2 separate regions of the Homo sapiens genome follow, and region 2 is linked to region 1. Evidence: promoter capture Hi-C in 16 types of primary human blood cells and fetal thymus (Javierre and others, 2016). All regions are on one chromosome and are shown on one strand. The core of a region is centred on a gene start or on the middle of the fragment in contact, and the rest is flanking DNA. Distances in the headings are between cores, read along the strand shown. Region 1 holds the start of ARMC8 (armadillo repeat containing 8). Region 2 holds the start of NCK1 (NCK adaptor protein 1).

Evidence for each region. The method cuts DNA at HindIII sites, captures the fragments that hold promoters and counts their contacts. A CHiCAGO score of 5 or more calls a contact.
Region 2: a contact is called between the fragment with the promoter of NCK1 here and the fragment with the promoter of ARMC8 in region 1, in 1 of 17 cell types (naive CD8 T cells). The highest score is 6.1, in naive CD8 T cells.

Annotation. Positions count from the first base shown.
Region 1 is chr3:138,185,922-138,192,138 of GRCh38, forward strand. ARMC8 (armadillo repeat containing 8) reads left to right here and starts at 1,380. Exons shown (of 22, transcript NM_001363941.2): 1 at 1,380-1,678. The coding sequence starts at 1,634. The HindIII fragment of the contact is 21,816 bases long and covers 1-6,217 here.
Region 2 is chr3:136,860,224-136,866,709 of GRCh38, forward strand. It overlaps NCK1 (NCK adaptor protein 1), which reads left to right and starts at 1,985. Exons shown (of 4, transcript NM_001291999.2): 1 at 1,985-2,130. NCK1-DT (NCK1 divergent transcript) reads right to left here and starts at 1,840. Exons shown (of 3, transcript NR_110177.1): 1 at 1,524-1,840. RefSeq lists enhancers at 914-963, 1,524-1,583, 2,644-2,723, 2,734-2,853 and a silencer at 1,944-2,003. The HindIII fragment of the contact is 9,923 bases long and covers 937-6,486 here.

The DNA of each region.
Region 1 (6,217 bases), core at 130-2,629:
ATTAGGGTTATGTTCTGCCCCATTGCAGTATGCAGTACATGATGTGATTTTAGGTGGTCCATGGATGGACATTTAAACTTTTTGTAGTTAATGTGTACTAGAATAAAAATAAGGAGCACAACAAACTTGATTTCACAGAGTATTATGGTTTAGGATAAAGCCAAAAATTTTTAATGAGTTGAAATTGGCTTTAAATAAAAATATTGAATGAATAATAATACCTAGGTGCAGATTGGCAAAGATTGTGTAGGTGGTGTACAGATTACCCAAGTTTCAGAAATAGTATTATAGCAGAAGGACTACCTAAAATAAAATTCCTGCCTTCCAGGAATTCAACAGTTTGTTAAGGAACACAGACCCATAAGCAGGGGTGGTAAATGCTACACTAAATTTGGAAACCAAGTACAGGAGGAAGACAGGAAAACAGTGAGGAGCAGAGTGCGGGAGAGGCTACCAGCTACAAGACCAGTTGGAAGGCTATTGCTGTAGTCCAGGGGAGAGGTTACAAGAGCCTGAATTAGGGTGTGGCTATAGAAATGGAAGGAATACAAGTAATGTTAACAGGCCAATTGCAACCATACTGTGAAAACCTTACTGGTTGCAAGCAGTACGAAGGTGAAACTTATCCAACCAAGTCAAGGGCAGTGTTGCACACACACACACACACACACACAAAGTAGTAGGACAGCTGAATTAATCAAGTATAATTGAAAGCATACTTTTATTTAGCTTCGGTTATGAGAGTGTTTTAGTGCGAAATATTTAGATATTTGCCCCCATTTTCCCCACTTAACTCAGAAGCTGGAGAAATGTTAACACATATTGTATAACGCTTTCTATGTTCTAGGTTTTTTCTGAGAGCTTCACGTTTGTTGACTCCTCTATCCTCATTAACCTTTATTTTATAGATGAGGAAACTCAAACAGAAGGTTAGATAACTTGCCCAGGGTAAAGCAGCTGATAAATCAAGTAGCTAGGAAGAAACCCAAGCATTCTGGCTATTCTTAACACTACACCAGAATAAACGGGGCCGGCACACAACGCTAAGGCAAGTCACGTATCTGTATCGGATCGTGAAACAATCACTCTTACGGTTGGCAAAGGTTCTGGGATCGCAATTTCCCCACCTATAAAATGGAGATAACGACGCCGGGAGTTTGGTGCAGAGAGAGAGAATGAATATGAAAGTGAACTTCAAACTATGTATGTGGCTCCACGTACTACTTTTTCCAAATATGAATACTGGAATCCATAAACTGCAATTTATCAGTCCGTAAAACTCGTAGCGTCAGGGCGAGACTCCGCCTCTGGGGCCCCGCCCACCGCGAGCGGCAGGTGGGGCCGGCAGATCTTCTTTGCGCATGCGGAAACCGCTGCCCGCTTCCACCTCTAACCCAGGCTCAGAGTAGCTGCTGTTTCTGAGAGAACGATTCGTAGGACAGCCCCTGACGCCATTCCCTTTTGCCCTTCTTTCTGCGGGCCTTTCCGGTACTTGAGCGGTGTCCAGAGCGTGGCCAGTTCTCGTCTATCTGGCTGCCTTTAGGGAGCGGTGCCTAGCGTTGGCCAATAGTTGGCTGTCGAAAGTGCCGGCCCCCGCGCCGGCGCCTGCAGCAGCCGGGTGGGAAGGCTCAAGATGGCGTGCTTGTTGGAGACCCCAATCCGCATGAGCGTCCTTTCGGTGAGTGACCCGCCGCGGCCGCCCGCCCGCCCTCCAGGAAGCCTCATCCCGGTCTCCACCATTCCCCCAAGCGTGGTGTGCCTCCTGGGCACCACCCCCTGGGGTGGACCCCGGCTCAGTCTCGGGCCAGGGAGTGAGCGAGGGTGGAGAGGCGGGATAGACGGGCAGAGGGGACCGCGGCCGAGCCAAAGACGTTTCCAACTCCGGGAGCTCCCGCCGGTGCGGGTTCCCAGGATGGCGTCTGGCAGGCGGGGTGGCTGGGCTTATAGACAACTGGCTGGGCGGCGCGGCTTGGACTTTGCCAAGCGTTTCACTGAGCCTTCCTTTTAGCGATGCCGCTTCCCGGGGGCCGAACGCTCTGCCTTGTGAAGCGCCGGGCTTGCAGCCGGCCTGAGAACGAGCGCCCACTCAGCTCTCCCGGGCTTTGGCAAGAAGAGGTGCAGGCTCCTTGGCCCCCATTTCCTCAGAGCTGCCAGGCCAAGTCTGTGCGGCTTCTATCGCGTCCCAGCACCTGGGCACCGGCTGAAGCAGTTTGCTTTTTGGCAATGGTGATTCGTATCAGCTGCAACTCTTCCTAGTGTGTGTGGTTTTTTAAGCCCCTTTCCTCCGCTCTGCTCAGAGGTCGCGGCTCTGAGTCAGAGGAACTCTATGTTCCCTGTGCCTGGTATTCCGTTTTTCTTTAAGGGGAGTCAAACATTGAAGGGGGGAAAAGGGGGTGAGATTTATTTCCCCATTGTTGAAAGAAGGGAACGTATTGACATGCCAGGAAGTAAAACCTGTTTTTTTTTTTTTTAAAAAAAGTTTTTTTAAAGAAAAAGACGACTTTCACCTTTCACTATGTTGCTCTTGAACCAGGACCAGGAATGAAAGTTACTGGGAGATAACTTCGAAGGATTTTGCAACAAATTCGAGCTGTCCGACTCTGAGAATGGTCAGTTTACCAATGGTTCATTTGCTATTGTTGGAAACAAGCAGGCAAATACTGATTGACCATCTTTTAGACTTGTGGAAGCCAGTCTGATACTGAGAGGGTAGTTGGATTATAAATGACTTGTCGGGTTCCTAGAGTCTTGTAACTACAACCGGTTTCTTTTCTCTTCTCTGACTTGTCCCACAAACAAACTCACCTATCTGAAAACACCTAGGACATTTGCTTATGATTCAGGGTTAGAGCAGTGTGGCAGACCTCAACCTTGAAAAGGCTTAAGTTGTCAATACAATAATAATTTTGTGAGGCTGTCAACAGATTTTTCCCCTGATCCATTTTAGCAGTCATTTTTTCTTATTTTTAAACTGCAACTAAGGAAATACTGTTTACCTAAGTATTAGATCAGATTAGCCTGTTACTCCATCACTGACTGTAATACCCAGGAATATTCTGTGGGAGTGCAGGCCAATGACTTTTACCTCATTATGTTAAAAAAAAATAGTATGTGTCTTGGCTGTTCTCAGTTCTCCTTTAATTATTCATTTAGATTTCATTTATCCTTCAGTTCACCTGAAGTTTACTTTTTGGATGTTGTCAACTTGTATAATGCATATGATTGAAAGTTTTCATTTGTTTCACTTCCTTGGTAAATAATATTTTCTGCTTATTTTATTCAAAAACTTCTTGAAGAGTATTTTCTATTAATACTTCTATTTAGGATTTGCCTTTAGCCCTAGTCTCATTAGGGGCTTTTTTTTTTCTTTAATTAAAAAAAAAGGATTTCCGTAGTCCCAAAGTCTGGTCTATCAGATCTTCACTCCTAGAGCCTTGGGGAAGTAGGAGCTTTTGGATAAATGATTTAAAATGTTTCAATTCACTGATTTTACTAATTTAAAGTGAAACCTGTACCTTTCAAAGTACTACCCAGAGCACCATGTTTTGAAATGCAAACTAGAACAGGAAACATTCATCAGAAATTATCTTGAATGGTTGATTCCTTTAATAAGCTACAATGTACCAGTTACGTACAAGCTCTGTATTGTATACGTTAGAGAATGCAAGGATGAGATCAGAAATGCGTTTCAGGAGCTCATAGTCTGGGTGACGCTATAATTTGATAAACATAATTTCAGCAAGGAGGCATTCAAGTTGTTTTAAAGGATTTCCATTTGAGTCTCTTTATACCTTCTCCTTGGGAAATCTCATTGATTTTCCTGTACCCTTAACTGATCAGTTCACACATCTGCATTGCCAACCTTGACTTTCTTCTACATCTAGTCTTACATCTTAAATTGTGTGGATGACACCCATCGCTTCCAATAAAGCACATTCCTTCTCCTAAGGGGAATTAGTTATGAGTTCCCAATTTCTGTTAATGGTGTTATCTTTCACTGATAAGTAACTGTTAAACCTCCTGAATAATCTCTGATTCTTCCTCCTTTCATCCCCCTGTATCTACCAGTTGTTAAGCTCTGTTGCTTCTTTATTCTTAGTGTTTCTTATATCTTTCTCTTCCCATGACCACCCTCATTCAGGACTTTGTTGTTTTGTGCCTGCACTACCACAGCGTCCTTTTAATTATTTTTACTGTCTTTAATGTCTTACACTCTCAGTGCAAGTCCATGTCTACTTAAATTTTCCTAAAGAACTCTTCCTACAGCCGCTCCTCGGTTTCTTTTCTTGATTGAATTTGTTTTGCCCAAAGGCCCAAGTTTATATTCAGCTTCAGAGTTGAGATTCTTTATTTTCTTATCTTTTTTTTTTTTTTTTTTTTTTGAGATGGAGTTTTGCTCTTGTTGCCCAGACTGGAGTGCAGTGGCGCAATCTCGACTCACTGCAACCACCGCCTCCGGGGTTCAAGCGATTCTCCTGCCTCAGTCTCCTGAGTAGCTGGGATTACAGGCATCCACTACCATGCCTGGCTAATTTTTTTGTATTTTTAGTAGAGACAGAGTCTCACCATGTTGGCCAGGCTGGTCTCAAACTCCTGACCTCAAGTGATCCACCCACCTTGGCCTCCCAAAGTGCTGGGATTACAGGTGTGAGCCACTGCACCCGGCCGAGATTCTTTATCTTCTACATGAACCTGCTATCCTGTATAAACCGGCTTTCTCAGGTTAGAGTGATACAGAATTCTTCCAAACTCCAGTAAATCTTATTCTTCTTACTCATTTGTACATATGAATTTTAACTTTGTATATATATATTCTGTACATCTACTTTGAGCTTCTGCCATTTGCTAGGCAAGCATGGTGTTGAGTTTGGGAATACAGCCGTAAGCTACACAGACCTCTGTCCTTTTGGAAATGTTAGCCTAGTGGGAAAAATAGATATCAAATAATCACACAGTTTGTGAATGGTGATTAGTATTATGAATGAAGTATATAGGGTGCTGTTCAAAACATGTCATAGAGGAAACTGATCTAATATGGAGGGCAATAGGAAGAACTAGGGAAGGTTTCCCTGAAGAAGTGATGCTGAGCTGAAAGTTCAAGGATAAGTAAGAACTAACTAGAAAAAGTGACAGAAGAAGAGCATACAAGGCAAAGGGAACTGCTTTTGCAGAGGTCTTTAATAATACTCTATCTTGTCGTATTAGAGAGTAAATTAATTCAGAAGTAACACTTTGTCTTGCAAATCCTAGGTACTCAGTAAATGTTTGATTGAACTATCTATTTTGGAGGGTTGGACAAACTCTCCAGCCCTGTTTCTAGACTGCACTATGACCACCCCATCCCTCTTTGGTTTGCATTTAACATTACAACATCACCCTTTTCAACAAATTCATAAATTTCTGCAATGTTTTCTATACTTTTGAATTATGTTGATTGCATTTTTAAAAACATTTATTTTGAAATAATTATAGATTCACAGGAAGTTGCAAAGATAGTACAGACAGGTCCCTGTGTACACTTCACCCAGTTTCCCTCATAGGTTACATCTTATATAGTTACATTATAGTATCAAAACAAGGAAATTGATCTTGGTATAAGTATGTATCTGTTTCTGTATCATTTTATCACATGTTTATTTGTGTTACCATTACCACCACTGTCAAGATACAGAACTATTCCGTCACCGCAAAGATCTCCCTCATATTCCCTCTTTATAGTCCCACCTACCCAGCCTCTCCCCGCAACAGGTATCCCTAACCCCTGGCAACCATAATCTGTTCTCCATCTCTATAATGTTGTCATTTTCTATAATGTCATATGAATGGAATCATACAGTATGTGACTTTTTGAGGTTGTTTTTTGTCACTCAGTATAATGCTTTTGAGATCTATCCATATTGTTGTATGTAGCAGTAGTTCCTTTTTATTGTTAAGTAGTATTTCATGGTGTGGATGTACCACAGCTCGTTTAACCATTTACCTGTTGGGCGTTTTGGTTGCTTCTAGTTTTTGGCTATTATAACGTAGTATGAACAATCATGTACAGGTTTGTAAGGACATAACTTTTCATATCTCTGAGCTAAATGCCCAGGAGTGCAATTGCAGGATCAGATGGTAAATGCATGTTTAATTTTAAAATAAACTGACAAACTTTTCCAGAGTGGCTGTACTATTTTACATTTCTACCAGTAATATATGAGACATTGTTTCTCTGTAT
Region 2 (6,486 bases), core at 735-3,234, 1.3 Mb before region 1:
GGGGGATGCAATTCAGTCCATACCAGTCATGATAAAATATGCAGTTATTTAAACCCTTAGAATAAACTCAAAATTCACCGCCATTATTCACTTTGGATGCTAATAACAGAATGTAGACATAGAGTAGCTGTTGCCCAGTTTCATGGTCTACTTGTCCCAGTCAACCTGAGGATAGTACAGCATAAATAGGTAAATTTGTGCTTGACCTTGTGATCCTACATATGGCAGGCTGTCTTAGTCCCTTTAGTGTTGCTAGAAAGGAATACCCAAAGCTGGATAATTTAGAAATAGAAAAGGTTTTTCGGCTTATGGTTCTGATGTCTGGAAAAGTTCAAGACTGAGCATCTGCATCTGATGGTAGCCTAAGACTGCTTCTACTCATGCCAGAAGGCAAAGGAGAGCTGGTGTGTGCAGAGATTACATGGCCAGAGAGGACGCAAAAGAAGAAAGGAAGTGCGACGTTCTTTTTAACCAGCTCTGGTGGAAATAAAGAGAACTCATTTACCCTCTCCCCAGGGAGGACATTAATCTATTCCTGAAGGAACCACCTCCATGACCCAACACTGCCCATTAGTCCCCACCTCCAACATTGGGGATCAAATTTCAACAGGAGGTTTAGGGGAACAAACATCTAAATTACAGCACAGGCCAACCACATGCATGCATTACCAATCACGTAAATAATTTTGAAGTTAAATGCAGAAAACTGCAAACTTTTGAGGCTGATATCCAGGGCCAGGATTAAAATAAAAAGTATTAATGCCTTAAACAGTATTTACTGACCATCTACCCTACTGCAAGGCCCTAGGGAGAAACTGAACAGACATGGTTACTGATTCAACGGAGTTTACAATCTAGGTAGACATACAGGCAAACCATTTCAATAGCTCGGATGGAGAAAACACCTGTGCTCCAAGGAAGGTACCTAACTGAGCAAGCTTCCCTGAGGAGCGATCCTAAACTGTGCCACAAAGATGGTTAAGAAGAGATGAGGCGGCTGGGCGTGGTGGCTCACGCCTGTAATCCCAGCACTTTGGGAGGCCGAGGCTGGCGAATCACGAGGTCAAGAGATCGAGACCATCCTGGTGAAACCCCGTCACTGCTAAAAATACAAAAACATTAGCTGGGCGTGGTGGTACATGCCTGTAATCCCAGCTACTCGGGAGGCTGAGGCAGGAGAATAGCTTGAACCCGGAGGCGGAGGTTGCAGTGAGCCGAGATCGTGCCACTGCACTCCACCCTGGCGACAGAGCGAAACTCGTTTCAAAAAAAAAAAAAAAAGAGGCAGGTTACGGCGCGGGGGCGGGGAAGGGGGCCTGCAGCACCGGCGAGGGGAAGAACCAACTTACTGATGCCTCAGCCAGTGGCTGGAGCCCTAAGAATGGACAGACCTGGCTCCGAAGGTCCTCTTCATAACACTACTGCCGCCAAGAATGTAAGCTGCCCAAGCACGAGGACACTTTTAGAGGGCCCTCAGACTCAGCTTCTTTTGGTCTGTGCCTCAAATTAAGCACATGTCTTACATTTCTCCCAGGTCCCAATTTTCAGGTCTGCTTTTCTTTGTTTTTCTTTGTCGCTCCCCGCTCCTAAGAACCTTCGGCTGGGATGACATTCTTCAGGTGCAGAAACCAGGGGGAAGCTCCCAGAGCAGTGGGGGCTGAACTCAGGACACAGTCATTTTTGCTGTTAAGTCTCTCCTGCGGCGCTGAGGAGGCAGGCTCAAAGTAACCAACCAGAGCAGCCGCAGAGGGAAAAGCTAAGACAGTTCTGGTCCGGCCCAGCGCTTCTCACCCTCTAGCTCTCTACTCTCCGCCGCGCAGCCTCCGCTCCCTCCACATCAGGCACGGCGCTTGATTGACATGAGGGCCCGCCCAATCCCAGTGCGGCAGAGACCGTTGTCGCGTCAGGGACCGGGGAAGGGGGCGACTGAACCTATCAGATTGGGTCCAGAGTGGGTTTCCTGCCCGCGCGGATCCGCCTGCCCACCGCGCGTGCCCCGCCTCTCTCCCAAGAGCTACGCGGCGGCGGCGGAGCGCAGGCCTCGTGCCGTTACGGCCATCACGGCGGCCGCAGTGGCGTCCTGGAGCCCTCCTCAGGTGAGCTGGAGCTGCCCGGCTCGGCAGCGGGAAGGTGAGACGGCCTTGTTGGCAGGCAGACACACACACACCCCCCTTCAGTCCGCTGTCCGTCCATACAGCCTGTTACTCGCTGCGTCGCTTCCTCTTCTCGCGCTGAGTTAGCCCCGGGGGCGCCGTCTGCAGGCTCGGAGCCGAGCCGGAGGGGGCGCGGAGGCTGCTCGGAGGGTCCAGACTTCTGCACCGGGATTCCGCGAGACCCTCGGGCCGTTGCCCCAGGGAGCGTGACCCCGCGGCCTCCTTGTCAGCCCCTGGAGCGCTGTGTCGGGCTGAGAGCCCGGGCGGCCGCCCGTGCGAGCCTGGGAGGTCGAGTGTGCGGCGCGCTGGTTGACTTGTCTGTTTTCTCATGAAAAAGTCCTTTTGCCAGCTGTGGCGTAATCCGAGGCCGGGAAGGTAGGGACGTGGTAGGAGGAAGGGCGCTCTCACCTCCAGCCCGAGAGGAGGGGAGGCGTCAGCCTGCGCGGTGCTGCGGGTGGACATCTTCGGGACGCGCCCTCTCCCCTCCCCCCACCCACCGGCCGTTTTCTAGTCTGGGGCTGTGACTTTAATGGTCTGGACCTGCTTCAGATTCGTACGCGAGTTGCTGGGGCTGTGAACTTTTGACTTGAGTTGTAATATGTTTGGTAAAACAAAAAACCATTTCGATAGGTTTTGTAACCTTTCTTCTGTATTAACATACAAGTTAAATTCGCCGTTAGAAGCTCAGGAAGCTGGGTTTTGTTCAGGGGTGAGGACGTAACCGTAGGAACGCTCTCGGTGTCAAACTGATGGACCCGGAGTCACCTGAAAATAATTATGCACGTTAGATTAGGTAAGAAGCCCTAGAAATTAGGAAAGAATTAGGTTAAAGAGAATTTCCTAACTCCTCTTTGGGTAGGGAGCAAAGCAGCTCAATGTCCTCCCAAAACGGGTGTTGCCAAAAGGTACTCATTTTTAAAATTTTACTTTGATAGACGTATGACAAACCAACTATAACGATTTCTTCAGCACCTGGAAACCAGTGTGCCTAGACTCTCAGCCTTCGGCGAGGTCACACAGTAAACGGAGAAATAACCTAAGAAGAAAGTTTTGTTTGGTAATTGTCAATAATATTCGTTCTTTTCTTTTTAAAACACTTAATTTTCTTGTGGGGGGTGGAGTCTGTGATATTCTTAAATAGGCATCCCATTCACAACTTGATAGTAATATGCACTGGTTGATAAATGGTGCTTTCTTTTCATCTTGACCACAAACTCTGAGACTTCTTTGGGAAAATTGTGATCTGTGGAAATTGGCTGTAATATCCATAAACATAGTTTGCAGAGTGTTCACATCTACTCAGCTGTTGGCTCATGTATTAAATTTTAAAATGTGTACTTATTTTTCTAGGCATTATCTTTTGTCCAGGTTTTGACAGTGCTTTCAGGTCCATCTAAATAAAATTTGAAACCTACGTGTAATGTTTTGTTCGATACTGAGGGAGTCCAGGCGGGGTAGCTCAAACCTGTAATCCCAGCACTTTGGGAGGCTGAGGCGGGCGGATCACGAGGTCAGGAGATTGAAACCACCCTAGCAGACACGGTGAAACCCCGTCTCTACTAAAAATACAAAAAAGTAGCCGGGCGTGGTGGCGGGCGCCTATAGTCCCAGCTACTCGGGAGGCTGAGGCAGGAGAATGGCGTGAACCCGGGAGGCGGAGCTTGCAGTGAGCCGAGATCGCGCCACTGCACTCCAGCCTGGGCGACAGAGCGAGACTCCGTCTCAAAAAAATAAATAAAATGTGTATTTATTTTTCTAGGCATTATCCTTTGTCCAGGTTTCTGCAGTGCTTTCAGGTCCATCTAAATAAAATTTGAAACCTACGTGTAATGTTGGCCGGGCTCGGTGGCTCACGCCTGTAATCCCAGCACTTTGGGAGGCCGAGGCAGGCGGATCACGAGGTCAGGAGATCGAGACCAGCCTGGCCAACACGGTGAAACCGCGTCTCTACTGAAAATACAAAAATTATCCGGGCGTGGTGGCACGCACCTGTAATCCCAGCTACTCGGGAGTCTGAGGCAGGAGAATTGCATGAACCCGGGAGTCGGAGGTTGCAGTGAGCCAAGATCGCCACTGCACTCCAGCCTGGCAACAGAGCAAGATTCCGTCACACACACACAAAAAAAAAACAGAAACAAAAAAAACCTATGTGTAATGTTTTGTTAGATACTGAGGGAGACCAGGCGGGGTAGTTCAAGCCTGTAATCCCAGCACTTGGGAGGCCAAGGCGGGAGGATAGCTGGAGGCCAGGAGTTTGAGATCAGCCTAAGCAATGTAGTGATACCCTGTCTCTAAATTAAGAAAATATAAAAAAATTTAAAAAGGAAAATAATAAAGAAAAGAGATACTTAGTGATACTTCATGGTTCTGGGTTTTTTTCTTTTCTTTTTTTTTTTTTTTTTTGAGACAGAGTCTCTGTTGCCCAGGCTGGAGTGCAGTGGCACGATCTTGGCTCACTGCAACCTCTGCCTCCCGGGTTCAATCGATTCTTGTGCCTCGGCCTCCTAAGTAGCTGGGACTACAGGTGTGTGCCACCATGCCTAGCTAATTTTTTTGTATATATATATATTTTTCTTTTTCTTTTGTTTGTTTTTTTTTTTGAGACGGAGTCTCACTCTGTTGCCCAGGCTGGAGTGCAGTGGCGGGATCTTGGCTCACTGCAACCTCTGCCTGCCGGGTTCAAGCAATTCTCTGCCTCAGCCTCCCCAGTAGCTGGGATTACAGGCGCCTGCCACCACGCCTGACTAATTTTTGTATTTTTAGTAGAGGCAGGGTTTCACCATCTTGGCCAGGCTGGTCTTGAACTCCTGACCTCGTGATCCACCTGCCTCGGCCTCCCAAAGTGCTGGGATTACAGGCATGAGCCACCACGCCCGGCCTGTATTTTTAGTAGAGACGGAGTTTCACCATGTTGGCAAGGCTGGTCTCGAACTCCTGACCTCAAGCAATCTGCCCACCTCCGCCTCCCAAAGTGCTGAGATTACAGGTGTGCGCCACCGTGGCTGGCCTATATTCATTTTTCAAAAATTTTCTAGAGTTTTACATTTTCATTGCTTTGTACTTTTACTTTGTCTTATTTTACTTTTTCACCATGTGTTTTTCAAAGCTGAAGGTATATTTGATGTGATTATTATAAATCACTTGTCAGGAAGACTTGACTTAATGAATACAGATACAGTTCATTTTTAAAATCATGGTTTAATAATTTTTAGAATTTACCTTTATAATATAGAAAAATACCAAATGTTCTTTATCTGCACTAGAAAATTAAATGATTATTTCATTAATAAGTAAAATTGAAGGGAACTTTTGAAATCACTGAGCAGTTAACAAATTCTCTATAAATACTGTGATGTTAGGAAGACAACAAGGCTAAATATGACATTTAAAGATTTAAGGAAACTTTATGTCTGGCTGATCCTCACCTTAAACTCTAATGAAGATAGAATTTATAGTCTTCCCTTCAAAACTGATTCCATATGCTGACTTTGTTTTGGTGACATTACCATGCTTTCAATTACCCAGACACAAACTTTGGTTTTATCTCTATGCGTGTAACAATATTGGCTGATTTTTGCCAGCCATTTTTATCTTTGAACTACTCACTAGCCTTTAATTGGGTTTTTTGCTTGATTTTTCTCTCTACTTAGTATGTCTTCCTAAATCTTAGAATTATGCTTCAAACACATCCTTCACTTTTCGGAAACCAGTGATAACTCTCTGTTATCTTCAGAGTATAGTTCAGAATTCATAGCCTAATAACAGTCTGCTCAAACCTGTTTTTCTGGGGCCAGCACTATTTCTTTCTTTTTTTTTAATCAGTGCCAGCACTATTTCTTTATAGGAGCTGTCCACTCTAACCAAACCAATCTCTGATTCTTATTTACTCTTTGTATTTTTGTACCTTCGTATCATTCCTTTTTCTTTCTTTCTTTCTTTTTTTTTTTTTGAGACAGAGTCTCGCTCTGTTGCCCAGGCTGGAGTGCAATGGTGCGATCTCGGCTCCCCGTAACCTCTGCCTCCCGGGTTCAAGCGATTCTCCTACCTCAGCCTCCCTAGTAGCTGGGACTACAGGCATGCGCCACCATGCCTGGCTAATTTTGTATTTTTAGTAGAGACGGGGTTTCTCCGTGTTGGTCAGGCCAGTCTTAAACTCCTCACTTCAGGTGATCTACACATCTCAGCCTGCCAAAGTGCTGGGATTACAGGTGTGAGCCACTGTGCCTGGCCTCTTTCTTTCTTCTTTTTTTTTTTCTTTGAGGCGTCTCACTCTGTCACCCAGGCTGGAGTGCAGTGGCACCATCTTGGCTCACTGCAACCTCCGTCTCCTTGG